Regions from separate parts of the Homo sapiens genome. Here regions 2, 3 and 4 are each linked to region 1. The links are contacts of gene promoters, found by promoter capture Hi-C in human tissues and cell types (Jung and others, 2019). All regions are on one chromosome and are shown on one strand. Each heading gives the region's core, a stretch centred on a gene start or on the middle of the fragment in contact. The rest is flanking DNA. Distances are from core to core; before and after follow the strand shown. Region 1 holds the start of MRPS24 (mitochondrial ribosomal protein S24). Region 2 overlaps HECW1 (HECT, C2 and WW domain containing E3 ubiquitin protein ligase 1). Region 3 overlaps HECW1 (HECT, C2 and WW domain containing E3 ubiquitin protein ligase 1). Region 4 overlaps STK17A (serine/threonine kinase 17a).

The links. Contacts are between HindIII fragments. The study calls those that stand out against the background at their distance.
Region 2: a contact is called between a fragment that was not itself captured here and the fragment with the promoter of MRPS24 in region 1, in 2 of the 25 tissues and cell types used here (IMR-90 fibroblasts and liver).
Region 3: a contact is called between a fragment that was not itself captured here and the fragment with the promoter of MRPS24 in region 1, in 1 of the 25 tissues and cell types used here (H1 embryonic stem cells).
Region 4: a contact is called between a fragment that was not itself captured here and the fragment with the promoter of MRPS24 in region 1, in 1 of the 25 tissues and cell types used here (dorsolateral prefrontal cortex).

The regions. Positions count from the first base shown.
Region 1 is chr7:43,867,934-43,871,318 of GRCh38, forward strand. It overlaps MRPS24 (mitochondrial ribosomal protein S24), which reads right to left and starts at 1,584. Exons shown (of 4, transcript NM_032014.3): 1 at 1,524-1,584; 2 at 1,375-1,443; 3 at 1,030-1,141. The coding sequence starts at 1,562. URGCP-MRPS24 (URGCP-MRPS24 readthrough) reads right to left here. Exons shown (of 7, transcript NM_001204871.2): 5 at 1,375-1,443; 6 at 1,030-1,141. The coding sequence ends at 1,053. It overlaps LOC124901620 (a long non-coding RNA gene), which reads left to right and starts at 1,713. Exons shown (of 2, transcript XR_007060296.1): 1 at 1,713-2,901; 2 at 3,015-3,385. RefSeq lists silencers at 1,296-1,355, 1,656-1,715 and an enhancer at 1,946-2,065. The HindIII fragment of the contact is 19,139 bases long and covers 1-3,385 here.
Region 2 is chr7:43,499,937-43,503,321 of GRCh38, forward strand. It overlaps HECW1 (HECT, C2 and WW domain containing E3 ubiquitin protein ligase 1), which reads left to right. Exons shown (of 30, transcript NM_015052.5): 20 at 763-846; 21 at 1,277-1,386. Among named protein-coding and RNA genes, the nearest start is that of LUARIS, 21 kb to the right of the region's middle. The HindIII fragment of the contact is 5,387 bases long and covers 1-3,385 here.
Region 3 is chr7:43,546,732-43,550,116 of GRCh38, forward strand. All of the region lies in intron 26 of HECW1 (HECT, C2 and WW domain containing E3 ubiquitin protein ligase 1), which reads left to right. Among named protein-coding and RNA genes, the nearest start is that of LUARIS, 26 kb to the left of the region's middle. The HindIII fragment of the contact is 4,626 bases long and covers 1-3,385 here.
Region 4 is chr7:43,592,538-43,595,922 of GRCh38, forward strand. It overlaps STK17A (serine/threonine kinase 17a), which reads left to right. Exons shown (of 7, transcript NM_004760.3): 2 at 3,364-3,385. Among named protein-coding and RNA genes, the nearest start is that of STK17A, 11 kb to the left of the region's middle. The HindIII fragment of the contact is 8,630 bases long and covers 1-3,385 here.

The DNA of each region.
Region 1 (3,385 bases), core at 334-2,833:
CTATAAAGTCACTGCCAACACTGACTTAGTGAATACTGAACCATTGCTCCTAGGTGAAATACAGGGTTAGATTCCTTTCAGCCTCTGGGCACCGTATTTTTGTTAACAAATCAATACATAACCTAGTTTCCTTTGTGTTTCTGTTTAAAGACACCTTGTTTAATATATATGGTAGATTCACTAACATTGAATTCAGGGCCAAGAGCAACTCATGACTGAAGAAAGATTCTCTAATACATGTATGTTCTCCCTAAGGCACGTCACAGCCTTCTCCCGCTTAGGAACACTAGATAGCACTTCAGCATTGCAAGGCCATTTTAAACAGCAAAATCACTAACAAAAAGCACGAAAATGCAAATTAAAAAAAAAAGATTCTAGACCATAAAAAGGACACCTTTTACAGTACGAGAGCTGAAACTAGGCAGAGCCTTGTCGACCTCAGCTCGGGACATGCACCTGGGGTGGCAGCTCCACCCACATCTCAGAGTGACCTTGAGAGTGCCCAGAGTGTTGATTTGGGGCTTACAAATAAATTTTAGTCAGTAGAAGAATCTGAAAATATGGAATTCATGAATAACGAGGGTTGTCTGTATATATTTACAGAGAAAAATTTGTGCTTTAGTGGAAAACTGCATTCCTTAGAGCACACTGTTCAGGGTTATCAGATTCTGCAACGGTTTCACTCCTTTCCTTGACTCTGAGCTATTTTACAGCTCTGTAAATTACAGATAACTGACAGGAATGCAAAATAATTCTTGTCTGTAGACATGCAAATAATTTCTGTTCAGTGGAGGATCAATTGAGTCCCTGCCTGCCATGGAAAAAGTCAGTTTTGCATCCATCTTCAAATTTGTTTCAACATCCTGATCTATATATATCTCTGCTTTTTTATGTCTCCCTTGAGTTGGTTTCATAGATTTCTGACCCTAGCATTATTTCCTGAGTTAAAGAAAACCTGTGACACGTGTTCATTTTGTTTACATGACAGTCGGATTGAGTGCTCCTTTTGGAGGCCTGGGGTCCGCTCACCTGTGTGCAGCGACAGCCAGCCTTTACGGTGGGCGATGTAGTGCGGCGCGTGTGCCTCCTCGTAGGTCACCGGCTTGTCCCCCTTGCTTACGCGTACTCGGGCCGCCCGGTTCTAGGAGCAAAAGGGGCCGTGACTCCACGAGATCCCCGATCCAGACCCCTACTTCGCGCCATGTCCCCCCAGTCAGCTGGCACTGTTCCCCGGCCCCAATCCCCTGATCCCTAAGCCCCGACCCTAGCCCCGCCTCGGACCCCAGCGACACGCCCCCTTCAGCCCGCACGGCTTCCCCGGCCCCCGGCCCCCCGGCCCCCAGGCCCCCAGGCCCCTGCCCCGGCGGTGCTCACCTTGGCGCAGACCGGGGAGGTGTGCAGGGCGCGCCAAGCGCAAGGCAGCTCTCGGCTCCAGGACAGCACCTGTGGAGGGAGGGCGCGTGAGGCGGAAACTAGGGACCCCACCTCCGACTCGCAGGGACCTGCCGAGTCGCCCCACTCACCCGTGGCCCCAGCAACCCGCTGCACACGGAGGCCGCCATCTTGGGCCAAGCGGAGCGCGGGACGTACCACAGCGCGCTGAGGGGTGGGGACGACCGCGGACGAGACCAAGTCGGAGCTCGTACTCTGTACTCTGGCGGGGGCGGGGCAGGGCCTCTGCGGGGCGGGGCCGCGGTATGCTGCTAGCTGTTACTCCCGCCTTCCCCGCAGCCCTGTGAATGCTCAGCCTTGTGAATGCTCATCCCGCCGCTGTTCGCTCTCCCGCGGTTGCTGCTTGCATAGGGTTTCAGATCCGGAAATTTGAGGATGCGAAACGTGAGATTTTCTCTTCGACAACCTCACGCTAGTACGGGTGATGGGTGTGCGGCCCACCGGAGCCCGCCCTGCCCAACCTGCACCCTCGGGGCTCGAAGAGGAGCCAAGCGTTTCCCCAGGTCCTAGTTATGCCTCCAAATAATATTCGTAGAAAAACAAAACAGAAAAACCCTCCAGACTTTTATCCACAAATAAAGAAGAAACATATTTTGGTTAAAACGTCACCCAATTCTTCAAGGATGACTTACGCAGTTATGCAAGAATGGGTTTGCCACATGTGACCACAGTGGTGACTGGCCCCTGAGGAAGGAAAATTTTAAGTACGGGGAAGGGGCCGGAGGGCAAGGAGATTCGTGAGAATATCGCAGGGCCTGTAATGCTGAAACCAGTGCGTCGCCACTATTATTGGTATCCAGTAATTATTAATGTCAAACGGAAAAATAGCAACGCGGGATATTTTATTTTAGAAGTCACCACGGTCATGGAAAAAACACGGGCTCTGGAGTCAGACCCATGTATAACAATCTTTGTACAGTTAAGACTCAGTTCTATTATCTATAAAATGGGCCTTAATAATAGTACTACCTTATAGAGCTATTAGGATCAAGAGAATATTTAATCAATGATGGGTTGTGTTTGGTTGAGTGATGTGAAATTGCCAATGTTTTGGCCGTTCTGGGTCTACATCATTCCCCTTAATGGTACAGTACTTGCATACTGCTGCGGTTTCCTGTCAGGGGGAGGACTGGATTATGATCCATGGGAAGGGGAAATGGAAGAACGGTGGAAATGAGTTGCCCATGACCACACTGAGAAGAGGGAAAGAGGGACCAAGACACAAGTCTCTTGACTTCAGTCCAGCCCATTTCCCATGACCAAGATTCCTCTGATTACATGAAGGTGGGTTCTCAAAAAACCCGTAATAAAAGGACAAGGTCTTCCATGTCCACTTCACCAGAAATGTTTTATTCTTACTTTTTAGGAACTGCGGCCCCCAACTGTTATGCATATTGAATAAAGGGACAGAACAGGGATGAGGTGCCCTCCAATGCATACTTTGCAAATGTAAGAACTTTCAACATTTCCTAAGAAATCCTTTTCAACTGACAATTATTTTTTAAAGTTTTCATAATGTTCAATAATTTTATAATTGTTAAGTTTCATTAATTTGCTCCAAGGTGGTGAGGAACATGGGATGTGGCATCTGAATTGCCTGAGTCCAAATCGTGGACCCAATGCTTCCTGGCTGTGTAATTTGGACAAGTGACTGAACCTTCTGAGCCTCGGTTTCTCTCATCTGTAAACTGGGGACAATAATGGTGGTTGTGAGAAGTACAGTATGATGTGCCTGGCAGAGGGAGAGAGCAGTTGTGGGTTTTGTTGTTGTTTTTAACGAGTCCCTGATAGCCACATATCCCGTTAGGGAGATGAGCCAGCTATTGAGGGTTCTGTGAGAACTCATAGCAACACCACCCTAATCAGAGGAAAGGGGAAGGAGAAAGGGAAACAAGATCCTTGGGCTGATCAGAGGCAGAGGTGGCAATGGCAC
Region 2 (3,385 bases), core at 546-3,045, 370 kb before region 1:
CTTGACTGACCTGGGAGACTGTTCTTGGTTCTTGGGGCCGGGCCCCCTCTGTGCCCAATGTGGCATCATAAATTTTCCATCAGGCACAAGATTTCTCAAGAGACACTCACCCCGCAACTCACTCTTTCCTCCCATGGCTTCCAACACGACATGAGCCAAGAACAGTCTTTTTTTTTTTTTTTGAGATGAAGTCTTCCTCTGTCGCCCAGGCTGGAGTGCAGTGGCACGATCTCAGTTCACTGCAACTTCCGCCTCCCGGTTCAAGCGATTCTCCTACCTCAGCATCCTGAATAGCTGGGATTACAGGCAGGCAACACCACACCTGGCTAATTTTTGTATTGTTAGTAGAGACAAGGTTTCACCATATTCCTCAGGCTGGTCTTGAACTCCTGATCTCGTGATCTGCCTGCCTCAGCCTCCCAAAGTGCTGGGATTACAAGTGTGAGCCACTGTGCCCCGCCCCAGAACAGTCTTTCAGGAGCAATCTCTTACCCAGCTCCACTCCTGACTGTCTTAGCTACCTGAGGACCTAACTTTGCTGTGTTCCTCAGCTTCTGTACCTGTGCAAGTCTGTAGAAAAGCCATCCCTCATAGAGCATCCTGAGAGCCTGTGATACAAACTTAGAATTCTGCAAAATACATAGGACGTTAGGACATTGCTATTCAGCAGTATTGGAAGAGGAAATAAGAGATCAGAAGAAAATGTATTTCTGAGTTTATGTGTTGGCATCTAATTTTCCTCTTCTTTCTCACATGATTCAGGGAGAAAATCCATTACATTCGGACTGAGGGTAATCACGGGCTTGAGAAGTTGTCCTGTGATGCGGATCTGGTCATTTTGCTGAGGTAGGGGGCTAGGCCTGAAATCCTTCTGGAAAAGCTTCCCTGGGCAGCTCTCCTCCATCACGGCCACCCTGAAAATGGCCTAGACTGAAAAACTCACCGCTTGTTCTAGAGGATTCTAGTAACTGCAACGCAAGTGGGACCCCACCCTTGTACCTGTGTCCATCACAGTCCTTAGATTTGCAATTGAGCTAGCAAGAGCTGCGTAAAGTACTTGATGGAGACTTTGTTGTAGGATTAATCAAGGTTTAAAACAACACTGAGAATTTGCAAGCAGCATGTACCTATCTTTCTGTACTACATTTAAATCTAATTGCTTTTGTTGCTTTGTGAGAAGTGTAAGTGCTGCTACCCCAATTCGTGAACACTTTCTCAGGGATGTAAAACTGACTTTCTTTTCTTTCTTTTTTTTTTTTTTTTTTTTCATATGCAGTCTCTTTGAAGAAGAGATTATGTCCTACGTCCCCCTGCAGGCTGCCTTCCACCCTGGGTATAGCTTCTCTCCCCGATGTTCACCCTGTTCTTCACCTCAGAACTCCCCAGGTAACAGGAATCTGGCCTAATAGCTCCTGTTAAGTGGCCACGTGTGTTTCCTCCAGTGAAGGTGAATGAAAGGCAACTGTATGTGTGTGTTCTTTCTCTCGGCCTTCCCAATTCCCTAATTGAAAATGCACTCTATCAGGTTTTGACAAATGGCTGCCTGTTTTTTGTAATGCCCCCCAAGCTAGAATGGGGTTTACAGTTTGAAATGGTTGGGAAAAAAATGTTTTGCTGGGCAGGTGGCTCATGCTTATAATCCCAGGGCTTTGGGAGGCCAAGCCAGAAGGATCACTTGAGTCCAGGAGTTCAAGACCAGCCTGGGCAACATAGCGAGCTCCCCTTCTCTACAAAAAAATTAAAACTAAGCCAAGTGAGGTAGCATGTGCCTGTAGTCCCAGCTACTAGGGAGGCTGAAGCAGGAGGGTTCCTTGAGCCCAGCAGGTTGAGGCTGCAGTGAGCTATGATTTCACCACTGCCCTCCTGCCCATACAACAAAGAGAGTCCCTATCTAAAAAAAAATAAAAAAGAAAGAAAGAAAGAAAAGAAAAAAATTAAGACAGTATTTTATGACATGTGAAAACTGTATGAAATTTAAATTGCAGTGTCCATAAATAAAGTGTAATTGGACCTCAGCCATGCCTGTTCTATGCTAGCTTTCACACCAGACTTGAGTAATAGCAACAGAAACCACATGGTCTGCAAAGCCTCAAATATTTACTCTCTGGTCCTTTGCAGAAAAAGGTTACTGTCCCTGCTCTAAATTGTTGCATTCCAAAGTCACTCTCCGAGCATTTCAAACGGAAGAGCCCTTTCTGAAACATTCTGCCTTGTGACTCTGAATCGATTGCACACCACTTTTGGTGATACAGCTACTAGGAACCATTGTTATATCTCCACAAAGATTCCAAAGAATTTCCTTACACATTTCAAAATTATTCCTCCTGTTTTCTTTATGTATGAGAATGAACTTGTGGTACAAAAATTCTTTGCAGGTATTTTCCATTCCAAGTGAGAGAATACATATGTTGAACTGTTTAGTGAATAAAAGATATTTTCGCCAGACACAATGGCTAACCCGCGTAATCCCAGCACTTTGGGAAGCTGAGGTGGGCGGATCACTTGAGCCCAAGAGTTCGAGACCAGCCTGGGCCATATAGTGAGACCTCATCTCTACCAAAAAAAATTTTTTTTAATTAGCCAGGTGTGGTGGTGCACGCCTTTAGTATCAGCTATTCAGGAGGCTAAGGCGGGATCTCTTGAACCCAGGAGACAGAGGTTGCAGTGAACCGAGATTGTGCCACTGCACTCCAAGCACTAGGCAACAGAGCAAGACCCTGTCTCAAAAAACAAACAAACGAAAAAAAAGATATTTTCTGGATTCATCAAGATAAAGAGCTTAGGTCAAATCCATACCTCCAGACTGGATCCAGATATTGGAGAATTTTTCCATTCGTATTTGACTTGCATTATCACATTGTTGTAGGTTTCATTTAAAGTAAAAGAGATCAGTTTGAAACATGTAGGAACATCCTATCTCAGAAGCTCTAGGGCCAGGGTTGGAGCATGGTTTTTGAAGCCAGTGGTAAAATTCCCAAGAGAAACAGAACTTGGTAATAAGCTTTGTCTCTGAGAAGGGATGTCGCACTCAGAGTTAGTATCATTCAGTACTGCCGTAGGTCTCCAGACTAGAGTATCTTTTAGTCTGGTTCCTCCAAGTTGTAGCATTCAGAAGTCCCTCTTAGAGGTAGTTGTGCTCGTCGTTAAAATATGTTTTCAAGATAGTATCTCCCTGTTGTCACTTCCTCCAAACAAGTGTACCAACAGCATTGTTAAGGAAATGTGCAATGCTTGCTACCTCTGACGCACAACATAATTAAATCCCATTGCCTAAAAAGACCAGGAGCTTTGCTGGAGCCGACATCAATACAGTCACACACTTTTAGCACTCATAGGATGACCTACTTTTGGGGAGCGAAGACAAAAGTAAGGGGTTTGGGGGGAA
Region 3 (3,385 bases), core at 433-2,932, 320 kb before region 1:
GGCTTTCTTGTTGGCAGCTGGTGTTATCTTTTCTCTTCAAGGCTCGGGGGTTAAAGCTTTAATGGATAAGGGCAATCCTGATCATAAATCCAAATGTGTTTGCACAAAACAGCAGAGTTAGCCTATCACTTCCTGCCCTAAATCCTGGTGCTCACTTATCTTCCTTACTAATAAGGGACCTTTGTGGTGCTTTTTTTCCAGAACGGGGCACTTTCGCCTGCATTAAAAACCTGTACAGGCCGATATCCTTTCTCCTCAGTGATTTTCTTAATGGTGTCTGGGAATTCGTCTGCTGCCTCTTGGTCAGCACGAGCTGCTTCTCTTCTTATCTTGACATTTTTTTCAGCCAAACCTGTTTCTAAAATTATCAAACCGTCCTTTGCTGGCATTAAATTTTCCAACTTTAGATCCTTCACCTTCCTTTTGCTTTGAGTTATCATATAATGACTTTGCTTTATCTAGAATCATATTAGAGTCTACAGGTATGTATGCCATTGTTCTAGCAATACTGCACTCACATAAAAGCTGTGTTTTCAGCCAGGCATGGTGGCTCATGCCTGTAATCCCAGCACTTTGGGAGGCCAAGGTGGGCAGATCGCAAAGTCAAGAGATCGAGACCATCCTGGCCAACATAGTGAAACCCCATCTCTACTAAAAATACAAAAATTAACCAGGTGTGGTGGCACGTGCCTGTAATCTCAGCTACTCGGGAGGCTGAGGCAGGAGAGTCGCTTGAACCCAGGAGGCAGAGATTGCAGCAAGCCAGGATTGCGCCACTGCACTCCAGCCTGGCGACAGAGTGAGACTCTGGCTCAAAGAAAAAAAAAAAAGCTGTGTTTTCAATATGAGATAAAAAGATATTCCACAAAAAGTGCCAGGTTTTCACACCTGCTGGCATAGCTGCAGTGATGGCTTCATGAATTTCGTTTTCCTTTTTTACAATGGTCCCTATGCTGGATTCATTTATTTTGAAAAGATGGGCAACCACATCTGCAGACCTCAATCTATGGTGCCTATCAAGTAATTCAATTTTCCCTTGTAATATCATGATTTTTCTCTGCTTCTTGGGAGTATTTCCAGCATCATTAGTGGCCCTTCGTGTGGGTCCCACAATGTTATTCAAAGTTTACAATATTGCACTTAAACACAGTGGAAAATATTCAGTAAACAAGAAAGATCACTTTTTACTGTGATACACAGTTTACTGGAGAGAGGCTATTCATCAGCAACACTTGCGTTCATCGCAAAAAACAGCAGGAGGTGACTACAAAATTATTACAATAGTACAGTATGTACTACAGTTAATTTTATGCAGTTATGATTTAATACCGCATTTTGATGTTTGTATTTGTCTCAACTGCCAGTGGCACCATGTACAGGCTCTAAGTGTTTGTGTGTGTACATTTTCATAAATTTTAACTTTTTAATAATAGATTTGTGTACATTTTATGTTAGTAAATGATAAAATAGACTAGTATCTACATATATTTTATGGACTCATTACATTTCTAACTTTTTTTTTCATTTTAAAAAAGCTTCTATTAATTTTCTAGGTATGCAGGTCATCTGCGAGTTTTTTCAAATTGTTGTAAGTCTCCAAAAAAATTCCCAATATATTTATTGAAAAAAATCCATGTACGAGTGGACCCATGCAGTCCAAACCCACGCTGCTCAAGGGTCAGCCTGTATACCTGTTTAAAGTTTATCTCATTTCTCTTCAAAAGGGGGTCACCAAGAACAATGAGTGGTTTTAGAAGATTGAATTGCAGCCCTTCTTTTGTCAAGTTGTTAGACAGTGGAGAGCAGAGGGATGCAGGTGAAAGACACCGTAGGCTTTAGGATTAGATTCAGCTACTAGTGAAGAAGCCAAAAATGACCCTGTTGAAATTAATAGAAGCTTTTTTTTTCTCATATAAAAGCCCTGTTGAGGCTGAGTGTGGTGGTCCACGCCTATAATCCTAGCACTTCAGGAGGCCAAGGCGGGTGGATCGCTTGAGGCCAGGAGCTCAAGACCAGCCTGGCCAACATGGCGAAACCCTGTCTGTACTAAAAATAAAAAAAAATTAGTCAGGTGTGGTGGCATGCACCTATAGTCCCAGTTACTTGGGAGGCTGAGGTGGGAGAATCGCTTGAGCTTGGGAGAGAGAGGTTGCAGAGAGCTGAGATTGTACCACTGCACTCCAGCCTGGGTGACAGAGTGAGACCCTGTCTCAAAACAAAAACAAAAAAAGCTCTGTTTGATAAAATCCTCAGGGATCAAGCTCCTTCCAGGTCTCCCCACTGCTATCGCTAGGGTAGGCCCCCTGCACTCTTAGCCCAGATGCGTACAGCATCCCAACCATCACAACTGTGTTCAGTGCAGCCGGACAAAGGAACACACAGCCCATCCCTTCAAGGAGGCCTCCTGACAGTGCCATACACTTCTGCTTACATCCCATTGGACAGAATTTACTTACATGCCACACCTAGCTGTGAGAGAGGTTGGAAAATAAAGTCTTTAACTGGGCCGCTAAAAATCAGACATTCCAAAGAATATGGATGCTGGGTGGTAACAAGTATTTTATCATTAGCCAATATTTTATAATTGGCACTAATCACCTAAGTGATAAAAGAAAAAGTCACCATCAGACTACTTATGGACTGCTTTGTTTAGGTACCTGTGTCCACAAGTGCCAAACATATATGTATTTTTTTCTTTAAACCAGTAACTAAGTCCAGTGATGCCTCATTTGTCTTGCAGCATTGAGCATTGCAGTGAGCCCTTAAGTGAATTTAAGATGACTGAAGATTACCCCCTTCATACATGAACATATTTTGATTTTTTAAAAAATGTCTAGCATGTTATCTACCTCCTTGCCTGTGAAAAGATGATACACAGATAATAGCCTTCCCTGATGACTCAAGCATGTCCTAACAAACAGGCATCATCACACAAGTGGCAGCGCCATTTGCTGTGTGTGCCTACATGCTTCTGGTTCCCTTCCCAGGGTCAGGCTGCCCTGGCTGTGTAATATTATACCCCACCCTCTGCCAGAAGACCACTGTCTTCTGGCCAGCTGTGGGAGTGGAAGCTGATGGCTGTTAAGAATTTGCTGTCATTGAGATTTGGGGGCATCAAGTATGTGATTGTAGTGTTGAGACATTCAGCTTCACCATTAGGGACAACCTAGGACATTTTCCTTTTATTTCCATTATGCCTCTTGAGTATAGGAAACTTGTTTCCTCTGTATAAAACAAAAACTGTAGCCTTTCCAAGGTGCTTAGCAATCTGCTTAGAGGTCGGGTGCAGTGGCTCCCAATACTTTGGAGTTGGGAGGATCAGTTAAGGCCAGGAGTTCAAGACTAGCCTGGGCAACATAGACCACATTCTACCAAAAAAAAAGAA
Region 4 (3,385 bases), core at 507-3,006, 280 kb before region 1:
AAAGCCTAGAAGTTAGAATTTAACAGGGCAGGCCAGGCATGGTGGCTCATGCCTACAATCCCAGCATTTTGGGAGGCCGAGGTGGGTGGATCACTTGAGGCCAGGAGTTCGAGACCAGCCTGGCAAACATGACGAAACCCCATCTGTACTAAAAAAAAAAAAAAAAAAAAATCAAAAAATTAGCTGGGCATGATGGTATGTGCTTGTAATTCCAGCTATTCAGGAGGCTGAGGCATGAGAATTGCTTGAACCCGAGAAGCGGAGGTTGCAGTGAGCCGAGATCGTGCCACTGCACTCCAGCCTGGGTGACAGAACGAGACTGTGTCTCAAAAACAACAACAAAAAAGAATTTAACAGGGCAATTAAAGCCTTGCACTTAATTTTTTAGAAAGCTTTTTAAAAAAATAGATTCAGGGGTACAAGTGCATTTGTGTCACATGGATATATTGGGTCATGGTGAAGTCTGGGCTTTTAGTGTGCTCATCACCTAAATAGCGTACATTGTACCCAATAGGTAGTATTTAATTCCTCACCCCCTTCCCACTCTCTTACTGTTTGGTCTGTTTTTCCACTCTATGCCTGTGTATCCATTTAGTTCCCACTTAAAAGTGAAAACAGGCAGTTTTTTACTTCCTGCTTGAGTCATCTCACTTAGGATAATGACATCCAGTTCCATCCATGTTACTGCACAAGACATCATTTTTATGGCTGTGTAGTAGTCCATGATACATATACACACCATATTTTTAGTCCAGTCATCCACTGATGGACACTTAGGTTGGTATCTTTGCTATTATGAATAGGGCTGTGATTAACATATGAGTGCAGGTGTCTTTTTCATACAATAATTTCTTTTCCTTTGGGCAGATACCCTGTAATGGGATAGCCAAGTCAAATGGTAGTTCTTTGAGAAATCTCTAAACTACTTTCCATAGTGGCTGAACTAATTTACATTTCCACCAGCAGTGTATAAGCGTTCCCTTTTCTTTGTATGTTCGCCAACATTTGTTGTTTTTTAACTTTTTACTAATAGCCATTCCAACTGCTGTAAAGCAGTACCTCATTGTGATTTTAATTTGCATTTCTCTGATGATTAGTGATGTTGAACATTTTTTAATGTGTTTGTTTGCTGCTCTTTTGAAAAAATGTCTGTTCATATAAAAAAAAAAAACAATGAGGTTGTTTTTTTTTCTCGTTTTTTGAGTTCCTTGTAGATTCTGGATATCATCCCTTTGTTGGAGGCATAGTTTGCAAATATTTTTTCCCATTCTGTAGGTTGTCTGTTTATGCTGTTGATTATTCCAAATTTTTTAGCAATCATTTTTAAAATATAGTATGAGGATACTGACTTGATAAAAATTCAAGGTGGAAAAAAATCTAGGTAGTTTATCAGCCCAATTTGAAATATGAAAACATGTCAAGTTTTTTAACAATCAATCTTAGGTTGTATTGTTCCAGGAGCAACAAAAATAATAATGATGTAATGCTTTGATCGATTATACCTGGATTAGTTGCTTCAGATTTGGTTGGCACATTTTCTGCTGAGCCATAATAGGGAGTCAACCTTATGGGGAGGTGGGCATGGTGGCATGTGCCTGTAATCCCAGCTATACAGGAGGCTGAGGTGGGAGGATCACTTGAGCCCGGAAGTCCAAGGCTGCATTGAGCTATGATGGTGCCACTGCACTCCAGCCTGGGCAACAGAGTGAGACCCTGTCTCTTAAAGGAAAAAAAAAAAACCCATGGGGATGGGGATTGATTGCAAATTGGGAAAGGGAAGAGGGAGTGGCAGCTAACAGATGGTGTTTGCTGTGTTCAGTATCTGATAGACTGCCATGTGGAAAAGAGAGTGAGGTCTGGTCTGTACTGCTCAGCAGAGGACCCTGACTGTAACCCTTCAACTGAAGTCAGGTTTAGGCTTGTAATGAAGACCTTATTAAGATAATATGTACCCAGTAGTGGAAAAGATTACCTCACAGTTTGAAATAAGACATTGGCATTTGGTGTTAGGTAAAATACTGTATGATTTCTAAGTTGTCTTTCAACCTAAGGATTCAGTGGATGTTTACGGGTGATGACTATCACAGCTTAATGATGTTTGTGTGATTAGTAATATTTATTGAGCACTTACTGTGTGGCAAGTACCATGCTAAGCAATTGAAATATATTATTCTTTAATTCTTAGAACCCTGTGAAGTAGATGCCATTTGTGTCCCTATTATACAGATTAGAAAAATGAGACTTAGGGCATGGAGGCTCATGCCTTTAATCCTAGCAGGATCACTTGAGGCCAGGAGTTCAATACTAGCCTGAGCAACATAGAGAGACCCAGTCTCTTAAAAAAAAAAAAAAAGAAAGAAAGAAAAGAAAAGAAAAATGAAACTAAAAGAGGTTAAATAAACCACCTAAGGTTACTGTCAAGTGCCACTTATAGGGTTCAAGCCCACATAGGTTTAATTCCAGAGCTCATACTTTTAATCAGTATGCTATACTGAGTCCCTGGTTTACCCACTTATTAGTGTAATGACAAATAGTAATGTATCAATATAACACTTTGTTGTATCTGTCTTTATGAGAAAATACATTTCTAGCTGACGCTCTAGTTAAAATGATAAATGAGTGAGATCCTTACCTTTAGAAAGTGATAGTGCTCTTTAGAGTCAATTAGTGCAGTGAAATTCATCATATTAGGGATTCTGGTGACCAATTTCTATTAAAAAATCAAATGGCTTTTTTTTTTTTTTTTTTTTCCCCCCTGGAGACAGAGTCTCACTCTGTCATCCAGTCTGGAGTGCAGTGGCATGATCTCAGCTCGCTGCAACCTCCACCTCCCAGGTTCAAGCGATTCCCATGCCTCAGCCTCCTGAGTAGCTGGGATTACAGGCATAGCACTACTACACCTGGCTAATTTTTGTATTTTTAGTAGAGACAGGGTTTCGCCATTTTGGCCAGGTTGGTCCAGAACTCCTGACCTCAAGTGAGCCACCTGCCTCAGCCTCCCAAAATGCTGAGATTACAAAGGTGCACCATGCCTGGCTTCAACTGGCTTTTTTAGAGACCTAAATCATTTTATGTATAAATGTGCAAAAAATTAAGTTATGTGTAACTCTGCAAAAAAATGGACTTTAATATTTGTTATTCTTTAGAAAATGAATTGTGCAGGTTTATACATTTTGTTTTATTTGATAAATCTATAAATCTATAGATGTAGCCTATATAAATTTCTAAGTGATGTTTCTACTTTTGTGATTGTATATAAGCTAAATTTGAATATCTACCAATGGGTATTTGGAAATTTCATTGAAATCTGCCATCTCTGGAAAGTTGTCAACTTTAACAGTGAATGTTTTTGTTTAATTCTAGGGGGAAATTTGCAGTGGTGAGA